Regions from separate parts of the Homo sapiens genome. Here all the other regions are linked to region 3. Evidence: promoter capture Hi-C in 16 types of primary human blood cells and fetal thymus (Javierre and others, 2016). All regions are on one chromosome and are shown on one strand. The core of a region is centred on a gene start or on the middle of the fragment in contact, and the rest is flanking DNA. Distances in the headings are between cores, read along the strand shown.

Evidence for each region. Contacts are between HindIII fragments. The CHiCAGO score rates a contact against its expected background, and 5 or more counts as called.
Region 1: a contact is called between a fragment that was not itself captured here and the fragment with the promoter of NCAM2 in region 3, in 1 of 17 cell types (M0 macrophages). The highest score is 5.3, in M0 macrophages.
Region 2: a contact is called between a fragment that was not itself captured here and the fragment with the promoter of NCAM2 in region 3, in 1 of 17 cell types (endothelial precursors). The highest score is 5.1, in endothelial precursors.
Region 4: a contact is called between a fragment that was not itself captured here and the fragment with the promoter of NCAM2 in region 3, in 2 of 17 cell types (naive B cells and M0 macrophages). The highest score is 8.9, in naive B cells.
Region 5: a contact is called between a fragment that was not itself captured here and the fragment with the promoter of NCAM2 in region 3, in 3 of 17 cell types (naive B cells, naive CD8 T cells and monocytes). The highest score is 7.2, in naive B cells.
Region 6: a contact is called between a fragment that was not itself captured here and the fragment with the promoter of NCAM2 in region 3, in 2 of 17 cell types (total B cells and naive B cells). The highest score is 13.1, in total B cells.
Region 7: a fragment that was not itself captured here is called in contact with the fragment with the promoter of NCAM2 in region 3 in 6 of 17 cell types (naive B cells, total B cells, naive CD4 T cells and 3 more); the score reaches 9.3 in naive B cells.

The regions. Positions count from the first base shown.
Region 1 is chr21:18,489,000-18,491,936 of GRCh38, reverse strand. No RefSeq gene overlaps it. Among named protein-coding and RNA genes, the nearest start is that of TMPRSS15, 87 kb to the right of the region's middle. The HindIII fragment of the contact is 200 bases long and covers 1,356-1,555 here.
Region 2 is chr21:23,399,598-23,402,297 of GRCh38, reverse strand. No RefSeq gene overlaps it. Among named protein-coding and RNA genes, the nearest start is that of D21S2088E, 16 kb to the right of the region's middle. The HindIII fragment of the contact is 5,433 bases long and covers 1-2,700 here.
Region 3 is chr21:20,996,972-20,999,671 of GRCh38, reverse strand. NCAM2 (neural cell adhesion molecule 2) reads right to left here and starts at 1,263. Exons shown (of 18, transcript NM_004540.5): 1 at 1,054-1,263. The coding sequence starts at 1,108. The HindIII fragment of the contact is 4,236 bases long and covers 334-2,700 here.
Region 4 is chr21:18,287,092-18,289,791 of GRCh38, reverse strand. All of the region lies in intron 21 of TMPRSS15 (transmembrane serine protease 15), which reads left to right. Among named protein-coding and RNA genes, the nearest start is that of CHODL, 44 kb to the right of the region's middle. The HindIII fragment of the contact is 4,039 bases long and covers 1-2,700 here.
Region 5 is chr21:23,978,001-23,980,700 of GRCh38, reverse strand. No RefSeq gene overlaps it. Among named protein-coding and RNA genes, the nearest start is that of LINC01689, 340 kb to the left of the region's middle. The HindIII fragment of the contact is 2,002 bases long and covers 385-2,386 here.
Region 6 is chr21:18,303,286-18,306,034 of GRCh38, reverse strand. The region is part of intron 18 of TMPRSS15 (transmembrane serine protease 15); the gene reads left to right. Among named protein-coding and RNA genes, the nearest start is that of CHODL, 60 kb to the right of the region's middle. The HindIII fragment of the contact is 2,415 bases long and covers 68-2,482 here.
Region 7 is chr21:23,957,746-23,960,466 of GRCh38, reverse strand. No RefSeq gene overlaps it. Among named protein-coding and RNA genes, the nearest start is that of LINC01689, 360 kb to the left of the region's middle. The HindIII fragment of the contact is 721 bases long and covers 1,026-1,746 here.

The DNA of each region.
Region 1 (2,937 bases), core at 206-2,705, 2.5 Mb after region 3:
GAATTCATATTCAGGTGATAAATATGAAGAGTTTTAGGAATAAGTGAATCTATTTTTAAATTAATCTTAAAATTTCTATTAACAAATATAAAACTAAAATTCTGAGTATAAAAACAGGAAAGCTAACATTTTACCTCCCATTTCAGAGGCTCCTTCCTTTGCATGTTGGTATAGATGGTGATAGTCTCACTCTCAGAGACTTTATACTCTAAGTTCATAGTTGATATACCTGAGACAATTATGATAAAAATACCAAGTTACATATTTTCAATGGCTACCTTATGTAATACACTAAATAAGTGCGAGGGCAGAAAGATCTGTAGGACAGAGTGAGATACAAGAGATGTGGAACAGTCAGCAAAGGTGTCAGTGAATGTCATTAATTTAGGTCAGTTTTCATGTCACTTTCTCAGGGAACCTTCCATCACTCAATGTAAAGTAGACTCCAGGTCACTTTCTATCCCAAACTCGGTTTTAAATTCTTAAATAGCACAGAAGCACTATTTTATACTTTCTTGCTAAGGCATTTAGAATGCAAGCTCCATGAAAGAATAGACTTTGCGTGGTTTGTTTAAAACTCTCTCTCCAGCACCTAGCACTTAGTAGGTCTCTGGCTCTTAGTAGGTGCTTAAAAATAATTTATAGAATGAGTAAATGACTCTGAATCTAAGAAAAAGAGTGACTGCAATAGAAATAAAAATAAAGAAATTAGTGAATAAGACATTTTAAAATATTTGTTTATAGGGCTTGGTAAAGGGATCTGGAAACAGCAAAAGCCAGATGAAAGAAATATAAATTACTTATAAGGTTTGGTAAAGGGATCTGAAAAATGCAGAAGTGAGATGAAAGAAAGACCCAGAGTTCCAAACATAGGTGGTTTAGAAAATGTTGTGAATACTTGCAGGGAGCGGGGTGGTGGAGAAGGACATCAGAGCAGTGAGCCTCTCTGGATAGGTAAGTAATGAATTAGCTCAATGTTATATTTTCCAAACGTGTGGTGAATGGGAAATAGTCATGATAGATCAAGTATGTAATTAGATATGGAGCTGAATTTCAGGTGATAACAGATCTTTTGATTAATTAGGATACGTTATTTTATGCTAGCCATTGGCTAGGTCTTGTACATAGATACAGTGACTAAGAGACAGGCCCTGATTTTGAGAAATTCATCAAAGTAGAGATAGACAAGCATATACATGAGATGAGTAAGATTGATTTATACTGATTCAACAAAACACTGACGGTGAATTGTCAGATAGAAATAAGAGGCCTCCTGGAAGACAACATACCCTGAGTATGTCAAATACTGAGTATTTCAAAGACGACGTACCCTGAGTATACAAAGACAGAAAGCTTGGCCTTTGGTAGAGGGCTATCATTTAGACGTGTCTTTCCTGGATTTATCACAGGAGAAGAAGATGGGAAAGCAGCAAGTAAAAACTGAAAGGAGTCACTAAAAGTGCTGTAAGACATCAAAGCCTAGTGTACCACACAGAGGACAGAAGGATATGTGTATCCACTTTTTTTCTTACAGGGCTAGGCATCAGTGGAAGCTTATGAAGGATATGGCAATGGCCAGGAAACACTTCACTATGGCACAGAAGTAAGAACAGACACAGCTAACTTTGCAATCACTCCCTCTTGTAATTCCATCTTAGCCATCCTTTGAGTCAACTAGAGTAGGAGTCCCTAACCCTGGCCATGGGTCAGTATTTGTGCATGCCTGTTAGGAACTGGGCTGCAGAGCAGGAGGTGAGCAGCAGGCAAGAGAGCATTCCCACCTAAGCTCTGCCTCCTGTCAGAGCAGTGGCAGCATTAGATTCTCATAGGAGAATGAACTCTATTGTGAACTGTGCAAGCAAGGGATCTAGGTTGTGCATCCCTCTGAGAATTTAACTAATGCCTAATGATCTGAGGTGGAACTATTGCATCCCCAAATCATCCCCCACCTCTACCCACTTCACAGAAAAAATGTCTTCCACGAAACCTGTCCCTGGTGCCAAAAATGTCGACCACTACCTTAAAGTCTCTGGTTCAGAGATTCTTCCTTTTTGTGGTCTTCTGTCCCCAAAATGTCCCCTCTCAAATTACATGGCCAGTCATCATAATCCCTGAAGTACCCCTGATTCCTTTCTGTTCTTGCTTTACTGGACTTGATATGGTTTGGCTGTGTCTCCAACCAAAACTCACCTTGAATTGTAATAATTCCCACGTGTCAAGGGCAGGGCCAGGTGGAGTTAATTGAATCATGGGGGTAGTTTCCTCCATACTGTTCTCGTGGTAGTGAATAAATTTTAGGAGATCTGATGGTTTTATAAATGGGAGTTCCCCTACACAAGCTCTCTCACCTGCCACCATGTAAGACGCGACTTTGTTCCTCAATTGCCTTTCGCCATGATTGTGAGGGCTCTCCAGCCATGTGGAAGTGTGAGTCAATTAAAGCTCTTCCCTTTCTAAATTACCCAGTCTCAGGTATGTCTTATTAGCAGCATGAAAACAGAACTCTTTGGCAAAACCATAATGATGGTTAAATTCAACAATACAGCAACTTCTGTGTCTACTTCATATCTGCATCTATCTAGCAAAGTAAAGGTGAATAAAAAAATACACTGACTGCTGTCACTATAAATTAATAGCAATAGACTTTAAGCAAACCTTTAATGCTGGCAGACGTCACATCACATATTGTTGGTATGTTCATGCCTCCACATTCTCAATAGTATTTGACACGCTCTCTCTCCTCGAGCTTCCAGTATCACACCCCTACCTTTGTCCCAGTTGCTGATTGTGCTTGCTGTTTCACTGAGAAAACTGAAGCAATCTGAAAAGAGCTTCCACATAACCAATCACAACACCTATTCACCCATAAGTCTGCATTCACTTCCCTGCCTTCCCACTTCTTAGAGTCAGGTCTCATCTTCTCTTGCCAACTTAGGG
Region 2 (2,700 bases), core at 57-2,556, 2.4 Mb before region 3:
AATCCAAAATCTAAATGACATCCCCACTAGTAGATTAAAGATTAGGTAGGAAAAAGGACTTAGATATTACTCAGATCCTTGTTAAGTTATGGTAAGAATGTTCCTTGGGATATATATACATATATATATATATATATATGTATATATATATATATGTATATATATATACACATATATATATACATATATATATATATGTGTGTGTATATATATATATATATATATATATATATATGTGTATATATATATTTGAGACGGAGTTTCGCTCTGTCGCCCAGGCAGGTGTGCAGTGGCGCGATCTCGGCTCACTGTAAGCTCCACCTCCCGGGTTCACGCCATTCTCCTGCCTCAGCCTCCCTAGTAGCTGGGACTACAGGCGCCCGCTACCACACCCGGCTAATTTTTTTGTGTGTTTTTAGTAGAGACAGGGTTTCACCATGTTAGCCAGGATGGTCTCGATCTTCTGACCTCGAGATCCGCCCACCTCGGCCTCCCAAAGTGCTGCCCTGGGATATTTTGAAAGACAAAGCATGTGCAAATTGAGCTTGAAAATTTACTAGAACTGGATGGAAAAAGCAACAACACGAGAAAAAATATTGTGTGATTGTGTTTATTGCTTCTGTAATCAAAGTTCTACCATAGATGAACTAATACTAGTTGTAAAAATGACCCTGCTCTATAGAGGACTTGGAGACAAAGCTGGCTCTCTAATCCTTTCCGCAACACCTTGTATGAAGATTTCTGGGTCAGGTGTGGGAGCTAACCAATAGCAAATATTAAGTCATGCAAATTATTTTCTTCTCAGCCTAGTACTTCAGATGACCTCAAGGTGGCATGATGCGACTAAGTTTGGGCCAATGAAATATAAGCAGAATATTTGCAGAATAATTTACTTCAAAGAATATGAGTTTTCCCTCTCTTTCTTTTTTTTTTTTTTTTTTTTTTTAATTTTAACCTCATGGCTGGATGTCACCAAGCAATAGCATGTGGGAATGTGGGAATGGCAAAACTCAAAAATGGATGGAGACTTCGTTTCTGACACCATCAAGCCCACCAGATCAGCCATATTGTTAAGTGAGAGATAAAACTAGATTAAAATATTGTGTTTGGGGAGTCTCTTTTATAGCTGCTTCACCCATACCCAATTATGTATTTTACCAGATTAACAAATACTAAACTATCGGGCAATGAATCTAAAACCTTGTAAATAAGAAGTACATTTTATTAATTATGGTTTTCCTATATTCGTCTAATAAATTCTTTTCTTTTTTTTTTTTTTGAGACAGAGTCATACTCTGACACCCAGGTTGCAGTGCAGTGGCATGATACTGGCTCACTGCAACCTCCGCCTCCTGGGTTCAAGCGATTCTCCTGCCTCAGCCTCCCAAGTAGCTGGGACTACAGGCACATGCCACCACACCTGGCTAATTTTTTGTATTTTTAGTAGAGACAGGGTTTTACCATGTTAGCAAGTATGGTCGCGGTCTCCTGACCTCATGATCTGCCCGCCTCAGCCTCCCAAAGTGCTGGGATTACAAGTGTGAGCCACCGAGCCTGGCATCTGTTAATGATTTGTATACTCCAATTTACCTTTTATTATTTTGTCTACGTATCTATCATAACCATGCTTACATAAATATATTTATAGTGGTCACTGAATCACCATATTTGTGTCTTTTGTATGTGAGTTAAAAGTTTTGCATGTCTTATGAGTCTGTAAATAATTTTACATAGAGCATGTTTTATGATCTAGATATATATATTGTTTTTATTACTATTCCAAACCCAACCATATGAGAAAAATAGAATACATGGAAAAAATAGAAATTGGCTCTCTGCAGTGATATGGTTTGGCTGTGTCCCCAACCCAAATCTCATCTTGAATTGTAGCTCCTGTAATTCCCACGTGTCATGGAGGGACCACACGGGAGGTAACTGAATCATGGTGATGGGTCTTTCCTGTGCTGTTCTCCTGATAGTGAATAAGCCTTACGAAATCTGATGGTTTCATAAAGGAGAGTTCCCCTCCACAAGCTCTCTTGCCTGCCACCATGTAAGACGTGACTTTGCTCCTCAATCGCTTTCTGTCTTAATTGTAAGGCCTCCCCAGCTTTGTGGAACTGTTAGTCAATTAAACCTTTTTCCTTTGTAAATTACTCAGTTTCAGGATATGTCTTTATTAAGAGCATGAGAACAAACTAATACATGCAGAAACAAATTACACAAAAGAAGACGATTTCTCTCCTCTTGAAATTCAAAGTTCTGATGTAGTGCTGATAGGTCTCTGTGTATTAAATAATAAAACCCATGTTTTCTGCTTTTCCAGTACTTGTGTCTCCCACTAAGTTTGGGGTTTGATTTTGGTTTTATGCTCCTTTTAACAGCTTTTGCAAAGATGTACTTATTATGTAGCACTTAACTAGCTCAGTTTAGGGGATGTGATGCTTAGCAGAGATAAACAGGGTATGTGGGGTGAATGGTCTAAATATCCAGGTTGACAGTGTTATACATAACGGTCATTAAATGAATATTTTGTAAGATTGTAAAACATTAAGTACTTGTCTCTTATCATCTAGCTCCCTCCTATAATAATATCAGATGGCTTTATAGAAATCATGTATTTCATTTAATACAATGCAAATGTGTTAGGGAGTTGAAAGAAAACGAATAGTAAATATATGCCATGCTTGTTTTGTTTTG
Region 3 (2,700 bases), core at 14-2,513:
ATTTTAAAAAACCAATTTCACACTACACTAACAACATAACATTCTTTGCAATCATTACATATCTCAAAATTAGTGCTATTTTATTTTTCCTTTAAAGACTTTCACCAATGCATGTTTTAGCATTTTGTGTCCCTAATTAAACGTCCAAACTTGTCTGGACAGTTGAAAATGCTTCCATTTATTGTAAATATATTTCATGTGAGTGTTTACTATCTAAACAGCCAGATAAATTCATATCTATCTCTCTAGAGACAAACAGTGATAGCTTCCACAAATTCCCTCTCAGGTTATTCTACCAGGCTATTCATTTTTTTTTTTTAAGAGATAAAAGCTTCCACCAGTTCTCCCACAACCCCAAAAATCCTCTACAGGTGTAATTACAATGTAATGTTATAAAATGATTCCACCTTTCTGTATTAATAAGGGGTTGGGGTCAAAATGAATGACTGCAACACATCCCTAGTTTTATCCATTTGCTTTCTTACACACAATATCCACGGCCCCTCTCTTAGTTTCCAACAGAAATAAGCCATCATCATTCACTTCATAGTCAGGAATTAGGGTTTTGGGAAAGGGGTGGAAAAAAAAAAGAGTCTCCAAGAATCGAACGTCTTGCACACAGCAGATATTTTGCAAATGAGTTTAACACTGATAGTTTTTGCTGCTTCTGTAAAACACCATCGTGCCCTTTCCTTCCGCAACCTCAGATATTTCACTGTTAACACACTCATCCAATTTCTGATAATAAAAATAAGAGAAAGCCATAATCCCAGAGGAAAAAAAAAGAAGAAGAAGAAGCGGTTTCCCTGGATATCCTGCTCACCGATTCCCCTCTCCAATTCTGTATTTTCCCTTCTCTTATTTAAGGGTCTCCACACAACAGATACAATTTTAGGGACAGCTAGGAGAAAGAACGAAAATAATAATAACAACAACAGCAATAACTGTAACTTTAGTTCTTTCATTTCATTCTTCCTGCGCCTCCCTCTTTGCCTCTCTTGGCCGGGTGGAAGGGGGAGGGAAAGTAAATGCAATAAAGCGCCACACTCCTACCTTGCCCGCTACTGACAAGCAACCCCAGCAGGTAGAAGGAGAGGAGGAGGCTCATGTTCAGGACGTGACACCGGTGGACAGTTTCAAAGTTATTAAGTCCAGCCCTGGAGAGAGAACCTTTCGCTGCCCCGGCCGCCTCTGCTAGAGCCGCCGCCGCCGCTCCCGCGGTGCCCCAGCCGCCCGCAGCCCGCGCGCTCCTCCTCGCAAAGTGACTGCAAGCTCCGCTCTTGCCGCACTATATCCAGGCAGCGGCGGCGGCAGCGGCGGCAGAAGCAGCAGCAGCAGCGGCCGCCGCGGCGGCAGCAGAGCCGGGCGGGGAGGGCGGCGGGGGCGGGGGCGCGGCGAGGGGAGGTGCGGCCGAGGCGTATCCCTCCGCGCTGCACGGCGGCCGCTCTTCCGCGAGGCGCGCGGTCCCGGGATTCGTCCGCAGTGGAGCTCGAAGTCACGGGTTCGGTCCCCGGTGCCTCCGCCTAGAGGGGCGGCCGCGATCGCGAAGGCGCCACTCGCCCGCCGGCCATCCGCAGGTTCATGCACGCCCTGAGCCGAGAAGGGCGTGGGGATGGGGGCAGCCTGGAGCTCCTTCACAGCCGCCGGCTGCCTCAGGACAGCTGAGCTGATGCTGAGCTGAGCTGAGCTGAGCTGATGCTCATGCAGATGCTGATGCTGATGCTGATGCTGATACTGATACTGCAGGCGACCGCCCCGAGCGCGCCCCGGCTCAACGTGAATGGGGGATCTGGAGGCGGGCGGTGTGCCCCGCAGCTTATTCCTTTTGGGCGTGGGAGGAGGGAGATTCTTGTCTCTCCGTGGACCTCCTTCTCCCTCTCTCGCTCAAACCTGGAGCAGGCTGGCCCCTTGCGCGGCTGTCCCCTTCCCACGCTCCCCACCCCGCCGCGACAGAGGGGAAGCAATTGTACCCTAAAGTCTACACTGTCTGTCTCCTCAGGCGCTAAAGGGTGGGCGGAAAAATAACGTACAGAGTGTTTCCTCTACATCTCGACCCATTGCTGTTGGGAGCGGCACCTTACGGGAGAGACACTGGAGAGGGGACGAGCCGCGGGAGGGGCTGCGTTCAACTCAGCCTTAGCCTCAGCTGTGTCCTTAGAGGCCTGAAGTCTCTCCTGGCCTCACTCCGCGGGCTCTGCCCTCGGTCCCAGTGCGCTGCACTGGCCAGATCCCCGCCAGGAGTGCACCGAGGGAGGACTGCAAATGTGCAAAGATGAGTTGGGTCGCGGGGGGGAGACCTTCCCCAGATCAGTGCCCTACCCCGAACACCCACGTACCCGCGTGTGCGAGTGTAAATTGAAGTGAGGGAGCCGTGGCAAACGCCCGGAACTAACTCTCTGCTCCTTAAGATTGGGGCTTATCGTTATTTCTCCTAGAAGGGTAGGAAAACGTTTGTGAGATTAACGTCACCTCTCCTGCAAGAGCGGTTAAGAGGCAGAATCACCGGCCCGGGTGCGGAGCCCATGTCAATCTGGCCTGGGGTTACCGCGACCTGCAAACGCTGACGATGGGTCCTTTCATCTGCACTTTCTCTCTGGCTCCTTAGAAAACTCAACTGCCTCGCCCCGGCCTCCACAAGGACCCTAGCTCCTTCCTTATCAGTGAGGACATAGAAATAGCGGGGGTTGGAGAGGGGGGAGG
Region 4 (2,700 bases), core at 71-2,570, 2.7 Mb after region 3:
GTGGGCAATCATATATAGATTTACAGTCTGGATCACAGTCATTGAACGGACATCTATTAAAGATGAAATTAGTGACAGGGAGCCTCTTGCCAAGATCTCATTCTTTAATTTAGCTTTTCAGAGCAGACCAGAGACATCACAGGGATTACCTGATTTCTTATTGAAACAATTCCTTAAAATATGTGTTAACACTCCTGAAATAAATAATTTCATATATGAGGTATTTGGGGCATGGTAAGAAATACAGACTACTATTTATACTTCATTTATTTATTTATTGAGACAGAGTTTCACTCTTGTTGCCCAGGCTGGAGTGCAATGGCACGATCTTGGCTCACTGCAACCTCCGCCTCCCGGGTTCAAGCGATTTTCCTGCCTCAGCCTCCCGAGTAGCTGGGATTACAGGCATGCACCACCACACCCGGCTACTTTTGCATTTTTAGTAGAGACGGGGTTTCTCCATGTTGGTCAGGCTGGTCTTGAAAGCCCAACCTCAGGTGATCCGCCCACCTCAGCCTCTCAAAGTGCTGGGATTACAGGTGTGAGTCACTGTGCCCGGCCTATTTATAATTTATTTAGTACTCCATTTAGTAAACTGATATAACTAATAAAACTTTGAAAATCAACTTTTTAAACAGTTAAGCATTTATAATAAAATAACATTACTTAATTGATACCATAATTACCACTTAAAATTTGGATTTTTTTGAATGTCTCATGCTTTAAGCAGAACACAGGACATATATCAATTCAATAATTTTTAAATACTTAATTTCTTCTTAAACTTATCCTAAAATATACATATAATTAGTTTAATTTTATTTTTCTGTTTATCTACCTAGTCTTATTGTTCTAGGGAGTTAGGCTTGTAATATATAATGTTCTTCAGATTGAAGAAATACTATAATATCATTTTAAGATTATGGTAATATTTGCAGATAAAAAAGAGGAAGAGCGGCCGGGTGTGGTGGCTCATGCCTGTAATCCTAGCACTTTGGGAGGCCGAGGCGGGCCTGAGCTCGGGAGTTTGAGACCAGCCTGGACAACACAGTGAAACCCCGTCTCTACTAAAATACAAAAGAAATTAGCCAGGTGTGGCAGCATGCGCCTGTAGTCCCAGCTACTCGGGAGGCTGAGGCAAGAGAATTGCTTGAACCCGGGAGGCGAAGGTTGTGGTGAGCCGAGATCGCACCACTGCACTCCAGCCTGGGAGACAGAGCAACACAACACTCCATCTCAAAAAAAAAAAAAAAAAAAAAAAAAGGAAGAGCATTTTCTTAGGACAATAGAGACTTCTCTTTTAAATGCTATTTGTGTAAATGTATGGGGTACAAGTGTAATTTTGTTACATGGGTGGATTGCATAGTGAGGAAGTCAGGGCTTTTAGGGTATCCATCACCTGAATAATGTACACTCTACACATTAATTTCTTAATATCCACCCGCCTCCCACAGCGCCATCCTTCTAACTCTCTCTGATCTATCATTCCACACTTTATGTCCACTATACATTATTTGGCTCCCACTTATAAGTGGGAATATTTGAAATTTGTCTTTCTGCATGTGAGTTGTTTCACTTAAGATAATGGCCTCCAGTTCCATCCATGTTGCTGCAAAAGACATGATTTTATTCTTTCTCCTGGCTGAATAGTATTTCATTGCATATATATACCACATTTCTTTATCCAGTCGTCTGTTGATGAACACTTATGTTGATTCAGTATCTTTTCTATTGTGAATAGTGCTGTTATAAACACACAAATGCAGGTATCTTTTTGATACACTGATTTCTTTTCCTTTGGATTGATTCCTAGCAGTGGGAGTACTAGATCAAATGGTAGCTCTATTCTTAGTTCTCTGATAAATAGTCATAGACAGTAGAGATTTCAAGGGTAGGTTAGTAATATTGACTTTGGTTAGAGCTTAGGTCTTGGATCCTTTTCCAAAATATTTCAAGTTTGAGTGCTAGTCATCTTCCTAAAAGTTAATACTATCTTACTGTATCACTAAGACTTTTTAGATTTATGTCTTTATTAGAGGTTATATCAACTTCCAACCTTGTGTTTCCCTGTAAAATTGTGTTTCCTGTAAGTCTCTCTTGACCTATATCGTGCAATCCATTTCCTTGACACCATTCTATTACCACTATTTAATAACATATGTCTCTTTGGCATGTATCTCATTATAATTATTAGTGCACTCAGAAATTTCATTTCCTAAAAGTTTCTATCGTATCTCTCAAGTTACCTCTACTTTGATAATTAATTCATCATCTTGGATCACATTGTTGAGCCACCTTTTTTCTTAGTTATTTTGCATAACCACTTGTTACACAAAGAAGGAATATTTTAATATTTAGAGTTTGAGACTCTAAACATTAAAAAGAAAAAAGAGCTGGGTGGGGTGGGAGAAGACTGAGGAAGAACAGAGAGTGAAATTATGTGGATTGATACGCAACTCTGCCCGTTACCTGGCTGTTATGAGGAACCACTGGTAATATTCATTCCTTCCTGCTCTTGGATTGCTTACTGTTTTTTATATATCCATTCAATCAGATGACATTTGCTGAGCACTTATCCTGTGCTAAGTAGTTTTCTAAGTTTGGAGATGATAGTGCTGTACAGACCAACAAAATCTTTCCTCTGATAAGGTTTATATGACATGTTAAGGCTGAAAAACATTTAAATAAATACTTTAGCAG
Region 5 (2,700 bases), core at 136-2,635, 3.0 Mb before region 3:
TTTCTTCTTGGTATCCCGACACTTCTTCCTAGTTCTGGACAAGACATAGATATATTATCCTGTCCCATTTACCAAGTAGAGCCCCATAGAAATGGCTGCCAAGCTTGTGGAGCCATTACAATATGAAGTATCATTACTAGTGAGGATCCGAAAAGAGTAAAGATAAGAAGAAACTGTAGGTGGTGACTGTGCTACCTCTGGTTTTTATGCAGATGTGGCACATTAGACCCACCGTTGAGCAGTCACACTCAATGTGATGCTGAGTGTAACACAAACTTTGAGACTTCTAGTAAATGTTGAATTCAGAGATTCTACAAAGGATAGCAGAATTTATGATAATTTTTCTCTACTTTTAATTGTTAAAGTAGATGTATAAAGCAAGCTTGTCTAACCCAAGGCCCATGGGCCACATGCAGCCCAGGACCACATTGAATGCAGCCCACCACAAATTTGCAAACTTTCTTAAAACATTATGTTTTTTTGTGATTTTTTTAACCTCATCAGCTATCATCAATGTTATATATATTTTATGCGTAGCCCAAGACAAGTTTTCTCCTTCCATTGTGGCCCAGAGAAGCCAAAAGATTGGACACCACTGGGATAGAGCATCACCAACCTAGTTATGACTGTAATATTCTAGGATTAAACATGATTAAAAAAGAATTTGCTAACTTTTGGACTTACAGTGAATCTACAACTTTATGAAAACTATAAATAATTGAATATTTATTAGTAGATATCCTTCAAAATTATAGTCTCATCTACTATGTTAATTAATACAAGACTGTTCAATCATGTATGTATTTCCTCATTCATTTATACAATAATATAATGTAAAACTATAATTATTTATTTATTCTAGACACTTATCAAGTCATTAAGAATATAGCAGGTGGGGCACGGTGGCTTACGCCTGTAATCCCAGCACTTTGGGAGGCCGAGGCGGGCGGATCACGAGGTCAGGAGATCGAGACCATCCTGGCTAACACGGTGAAACCCCGTCTCTACTAAAAATACAAAAACAAAATTAGCCGGCCATGGTGGTGGGCACCTGCAGTCCCATCTACTCCGGAGGCTGAGGCAGAAAGGCGTGAACCCGGGAGGAGGAGCTTGCAGTGAGCAGAGATCGCGCGGCTGCACTCCAGCCTGGGCGACAGAGCAAGACTCAGTCTGAAAAAAAAAAAAAAAAAAAAAAAATACAAGTTTATTTCGGCTCATGGCTCTGGAGCCTAGAAAGTTAAAGAACACGTTTCTGGCATCTAGTGAGGTCATCCCATGGTGCAGCGCACAACAGCAAGAGAGTTTGTATGAGAGAAAAAACATGAGGGTCCTGGCCTACTTTTTTTTTATTTTTAGTTATTTATTTATTTATTTTTAGGGGGAGTCTCGCTCTGTCGCCCAGGCTGGAGTGCAGTGGCGCGATCTCGGCTCACTGGAACCTCCACCTCCTGGGTTCGCTCCATTCTCCTGCCTCAGCCTCTCGAGTAGCTGGGACTACAGGCGCCCGCCGCCACACCCGGCCCATTTTTTGTATTTTATTTTTTAGTAGAGACGGGGTTTCCCTGCGTTAGCCAGGATGGCCTCGACCTCCTGATCTCGTGATCCGCCCGCCTCGGCCTCCCAAAGTGCTGGGATTACAGGCGTGAGCCACCGCGCCCGGCCCTGGCCTACTTTTATAACTACCCGCTCTTGTGATAACTGAGCCACAGTGACTGCATGAACGCCTTCATGAGGGCTGTGCCTTCGTGACCCAATCACCTTCTATTAAGCCCCACCTCTCAACACTGCCGCAATGAGTAGTAAGTTCCCAACATGTGAATTTTGGGGGACACATTCAAACCATAGAAGCTGAGATAAGAATATTTGAGTTTGGTTGATCAAAGTGGTGTATGTTGCCGTTTGCTTACAACAAATCTGTTTCCCTATTTCCCATATTAACAGATTCCAATTTTTTTCAGGACTGCATGCAAATATACCCGCTTCTCTCATTCTCTTTCATCTTGGTGTGTTCATACAATATAGTTCCAGTCAAGAAGAGGCAGGTGAATGTCTCTGAAGATGGCATTCGTTCCCAAGTAAAATTTGAAAGTCTTACTATGAGAAAACCCTTTTACTATTGTAAACATGGATTTTGCAGATGGAGCGGCTACCTTAAGATCATGAAGCAATAAGAATAGGGACAAAAGTGTACTCATTTAAGCACACTAGAATACAAAATTCTTGAGTACTTGATGGAAAATTGAGCTGCCATTCAAGCCCGACTAACCCTTTCTAAACTATTTGGTGCATGGAACAAGTAAATCCCTTACTTTTTCAGCTATACTAGTTGGGTTTTATGTTATTTTCAGTTGAATGTATGCCTAAATAATATAGTCAGTAAAAAGCTTTGAAAAATTATATTTAAGCAAAAATCTGTCAACCCTGAGGCAGTTTTGAGACAATTTGGTAAGTATTCTAGACTAAGATAATGTCTAGCACAGAGTTCCCAAAACAGGAACAAGGTTGGTGTTTTTGAGGGTTTGTGGTTAAGAGGAAAGTATTTCCTCATTCCTTGTGGTATCCACGCTGAAACAGAGTATATAATTTCTATTCTTCAATTCATAGCACTCCGTTCAGAGTCAAAGGCACTGTTATTTTCTATTGTGTTGAAACATCAGGTATAAATTAGAACTGCCTTGGGCAAACTGGAAAAGTCTATTA
Region 6 (2,749 bases), core at 26-2,525, 2.7 Mb after region 3:
CAACTTCAGCACAGAAGGTACTTTTATTCTTAGCTATGTTACTGTGGTGGGGTGGGTGAGAAAAGCTTTGGGCAAGGTTGTGGAAGAAATCTTATTTTAATTTGGTTTAATTGACTTAACTACAAAGTCCATCATTTACTTGAAGCACAAATTATAACTCTGATGTTTTCTCCATTTTAAAATTAGAAATGCATTAATTAAAAATAATTAAAGAGCAAATCATTAATAGCAAACTACCATAATTTGATACTTTTTAACATTAATACTTAATAGGTTTAATATCTAGCAGGGTGGGGGAAGGCACAGTGATAAGATAATTATGTCTGCTCTGGGCAAGGGAGTGACAATAGGTGTACCACTGACTTGTAATACAGCAGCTACACCAGCTCTTGAAGGTACAGCCTGGTTATACATAAGAATCACCTAGTCTCAGCCTCAGACTCTTAGATTCAGAATGGTCTAGGTCAGTGGATCTCAATGTGTGGTTTTAGGACCAAATTCCATCCCAGCATGGAATCACCTGGGATAAATTTATAGAAATTCAAGGGGCCGGGCGTGGTGGCTCACGCCTGTAATCCCAGCACTTTGGGAGGCCGAGAAGGGCGGATCACGAGGTCAGGAGATGGAGACCATCCTGGCTAACCCGGTGAAACCCCGTCTCTACTAAAAATACAAAAAATTAGCCGGGCGCGGTGGCGGGCGCCTGTAGTCCCAGCTACTCGGGAGGCTGAGGCAGGAGAATGGCGTGAACCCGGGAGGCGGAGCTTGCAGTGAGCCGAGATCGCGCCACTGCACTCCAGCCTGGGCGACAGAGGGAGACTCCGTCTCAAAAAAAAAAAAAAAAAAAAAAAGTACGGAAATTCAAATCCTGGAATCCTACCTCTGGCCTATTGAACCCAAAAGTCTAGCGTAAGGCCCAGCAGTCTGTGATTTAATAAGTCCTTCAGGTAATTCAGGTGCATTCTAGAGTTGAGAACCACCACCTAGGGTAAGTGCTCTCAACCTTTGTTTATGTGTCATAGGTACTTTTGTCAGTCTGGGGAAACTTAATTTGGAGAATCTTCTTTGTCTGTCGCTCCTACTTCGGCTTACACTTTTTAATATGTATTTTGTCACCCAAGTGAGACTTTGTTGCCAGGAAATTAATAAGAATATAATTACACACAAAAAAGAGTATTTTTAAGTATATAAACTAAAACACACAGAACTACAAAGGAAATTTATTACATTAAAAATAATTATCAAAAATTTTTAAATCCATGGAAATATATATTTCTTTATTAACATATTTAATAAGATACACTGGTGGCTCTAATGACCACTGTAATATCAAAGGTGAACATAAATGATATTTTATATGTATCTAGCAACTGCAATATGATATGAATATATCTGCAGTTCATTTTGGTGACCATATTATAGATGTTGCTAATAATTTTGTGGTTAATCACCTACATTTGTATCAGAAGAAGAGATTAAAGTTAGTAAAAATAAAGATGTAATTATTTCTTTGCCAACTACCAACCTCCTACATGTTATCATGAACTTCCATGGATTCCAAAGAGGTGAAGGACCCTGGCTGGAGTGAGACCCAGAGGTCTTAGTTCTTTAAAAGGCCGAGGTCATTCTGACAGAGTAGTCAAGACACGCACGATCCTTCATATACTCATTTCAGTAGAAAACAACATAGAAGTTATACAAAGCATCCCCAAACTTTGACAGTTTGATTTCACCTGGTAATAAAAACAAAATAAAGATACACACACACACACATATCAAACAACTTTTTTCTACCGTACCAGGTTTAAACACCCTATTGAGAATCATCTGACTTAATCCAGGACATTTCTTAGTTTGTCCTAGCGTACTTTGACTTTGTTAGAACCACCCCAGACCCCCACGAACCCTGGCATAGATGAAATCAAATGGAGAATTTTTTAAAACCTGCATCAGAAATCTGAGAAGGATATCATCAACAGAGTGAAAAATATCCATAGCAAGGTTTTCACCACCCACAGACGGGTATTACTTCTTACTTGGAAAAACATTATTCCTCCTTTCTCCTACTAAGCATTTGAAAATATTTTATTGGAAATCAAGACTTTTGTGAAATGTCGTTTCTTTGCACCACCACCATTCAGGGAGAATCTTCTTTGTCTTTCATTCGTATTTTGGCTTACACTTTTTAATATGTATTTTGTCACCAAAGAGATTCTTTGTTGTCAGGAAATTACTAAGAATATAATTACACACACAAAAGAGGGAGAACATCTTTTATGTTTTGGCACAATTACAAATCATCTGCCAAAAATTATCTGTAATGTATAGGTATTTATTTTGTTATATAAAAACAAGAGAGTATGTTTTCACCCAAGACAATGTCCTTTATCATTTCCTTAGATCCTGTTATTTGGAAAAGAGGAGGTTTCTATATTCTAAAACAGAAATAGGTAAGGACAGAAAACCTCAGCCCTATGAAGCTTATAACAAAACCTTCCTTATTCATTCTGCTTTTATTCTAAAAAGTGCTTCCAACTGCTCAACTTGTAATTAACGCTATATATTCTATGAGATGAAGAACAATTTTTGAATAAAATCGATAAAATCCAATGAAATAATATCCCCTTTTTCCTCCCTCCCTTTAATTTTTCCTTCCTCTTTCTCCTTTCCTCATTTTCTTTCTTCTTTCCTCATATGCTTCTATTCTTTCTTTTTTCCCCCATGATTTTCTTCCATTATCTGTTTTCCA
Region 7 (2,721 bases), core at 137-2,636, 3.0 Mb before region 3:
TCTGGTTTTTAATTAGATATGCAGTTATTTGCATAAATTCAGGTTCAAGGTGACTATTACATGGAGAAGGAAAGGAAAGAATGCTTTCTTTAGGTACTGTATAAGTGTGGTATTTATTGAATGAGGGAACGGATTAACTGCATCATAAAAACACCAAGAAGAAACAAGAAGAAAGGTTTGTATAAAGTACTGCAGTAAACTAACAAGGATAAAGGGCAAGGGGGTGTGGTTAGTACCCATTATAGAGTATAGTGATTAAATCTCTTAATTCAGGTTCAGACCGATTTGAAATTGAGCTTCACATCTTTCAAGCACATCTTGTCCTCTCTTGGGCACATTGTTGCACTTCTCTGAGATAGTGTTTATAAGAAAATGGGGTAAATGATAGTTGCATCTCAGGGGGCTATTAAATTAGAATTAAATAAGAGAATGGTTGCAAAGTCCCTAGCACATAGCAAATGCACAAAAAAGTTTGCTTTTCTTTTTAAAACATTAAATGACTTTGGGTTTAAATTGATAATAAGTCTATTCAAATTTTATGAAAAAACAAATAACATACAGTTTTAGGCTGGAGTCCATCGCAAATATTAGTAAATTAATATTATTGAACGCAGTAGTTTATTAATTACATATAAATTATTTGCTTTTTCTAAAGAAATGTTACTAAACAGGAGAAATTGTAGCAAGAACAAGTTTTTATTACATGTTTCACAAAAAAGGCACATAACTAATGGAATCATATAATAACCAAAGAGTTCTTATTTGGACAAATAGCTCTGGTACAAAAAAAAAAAACTACAAATACAAGAGGATTCTAATGAGTAAATTAAAAAAAAAAATGTAACTATGCCACCAAATTTTTATTCAGGATACAAAATCTTAAGGTATGGAAGTTACATATTCATCAATGGTAATTTTTTGTTTGGTAGGTGACTTCTAGCAAGAATAAAATTAATTTATTTTTGGCTTTATAATCTTTATGTTATTTACAATATTTTTATCTATTTTAGATATTTTTAGAAGCTTAACATTATACCATAGTTTTTAGTCAATATCGTATCGCAGACTTTTTCTATATTTCGATATATGTTAAAAATTGTCATTTTTAGTATTTAAAAAACCATACAGAAGATAGAAAACAAGGCAAAAAATTCATATTTCTACAATTCACTAACTATTGTGACCATTTAATGTTTCTACTCCTAATAAAACTTCTGGTTTTTGCTCATATATTTGTTTGTGCCTGCTTATTTTATTTTAGCAAAATTATATTCTTAGAGAAACTACAATATCTCTTACTTTTATGCACTTGACATAATAGCAAGTTTATTTATTTTAAAAAGCCTATCTGTTTTCTTGCAGTGCATTATTTTTATTATATCTTTACTAGAATAATCTGTAAAATTTTTCTAAATTTTGTGGGAAAAGGGAGGAACACATAAGTAGATAGATAAATGATTATCCATTGTTACTCTCTATATTTTTAATTACTGGTGCTATGATATTCCTGTTAACCAATACATTTTCTTTGCTTAAATCTATATTTATTACTTTGTATACATATCATTGACCCACTTCTGTATTATCAACTTATATATCTCTAAGGTTTTCAAAATCTCAGTTCTTAAAAACATTCTATATAGAACGATAATCTAATGGTAACATTTACATGTTAAATATTTCTATTTTAAATGGCTTAGCTACAATTCTCAAAAAACAACTCTTAAAATATTTACAATAAAAGCTTTTCTAAAATTAATATACTAAATAGATAGATATACTATGATTCCTCTCAGATAATGACTCAACTTGTTACAGGATTTCTATCTATAATGGATAGTAATGTTAAGGAAACTGCATTTAGATTTTTTGTGTATCTTCTTAAATAGTGAGGTCTTAAATATCAGACAGGTAAAAGTTACTTGTAAGATTATTTCACAAGATTAATCCTTCATGGTGCATAAAGCTGCTGCAGGTGCTGGTGTGACAGTTTTCATCTGAGTTTGAAATTCTTATGAAACTTCAAGCCCATTTCTGACTTGAAAAGAAAAATGAGAAATTGCAAAGACTTTAAATTCACAATGTGCCTGGGGCAAAGATAAAATTTAATTCAGCAGGTCCTATTACTCATGGCAGACAAAGCCAAAAATTGTTTTATTTTTATAATAGCACATTAACCTTTTTTGGAAAAATAAAAGGTAAAACTGGGGAAACAAACCTCATCCATTTTAAACTACTATAACATGATAAATATATATGATGAAACACATTTTAAGGAAAAAACTTTACAAAGTTTTCAGTTTTGCATGAAATATTTAAATATATGTTTCATTTTAATAATGCCTTGAATATAAGTAATGATATTTGAATTTTAAACTTGCATGATCCAGGAAAAAAGTTTTACGTTTAAAAGCTACAGAGAAAACAAGAATGTGAAAGATATTAAATAACAACAGATTTTTTCAATTAAGTAACAGTATAATAGCAAGTGAAACTATTAAAAGTATACCTTTGACGTCTTAGAATCTCAGATTTCAAACAGAATAGCTTCTGAAAATAAGGATCTTTAAAATGTCAAAAAGAATTGCTTTCAGGAGATCAGTATGTCAAAAAATTTACTTTTATTCCCAAGTTTCTCATTTTCACACATAAAAACAGAAACACAGTGTACTTTGGACATGATTAATTTATTGCTTTCTTGGGTGATGAGCTCAGCATTGG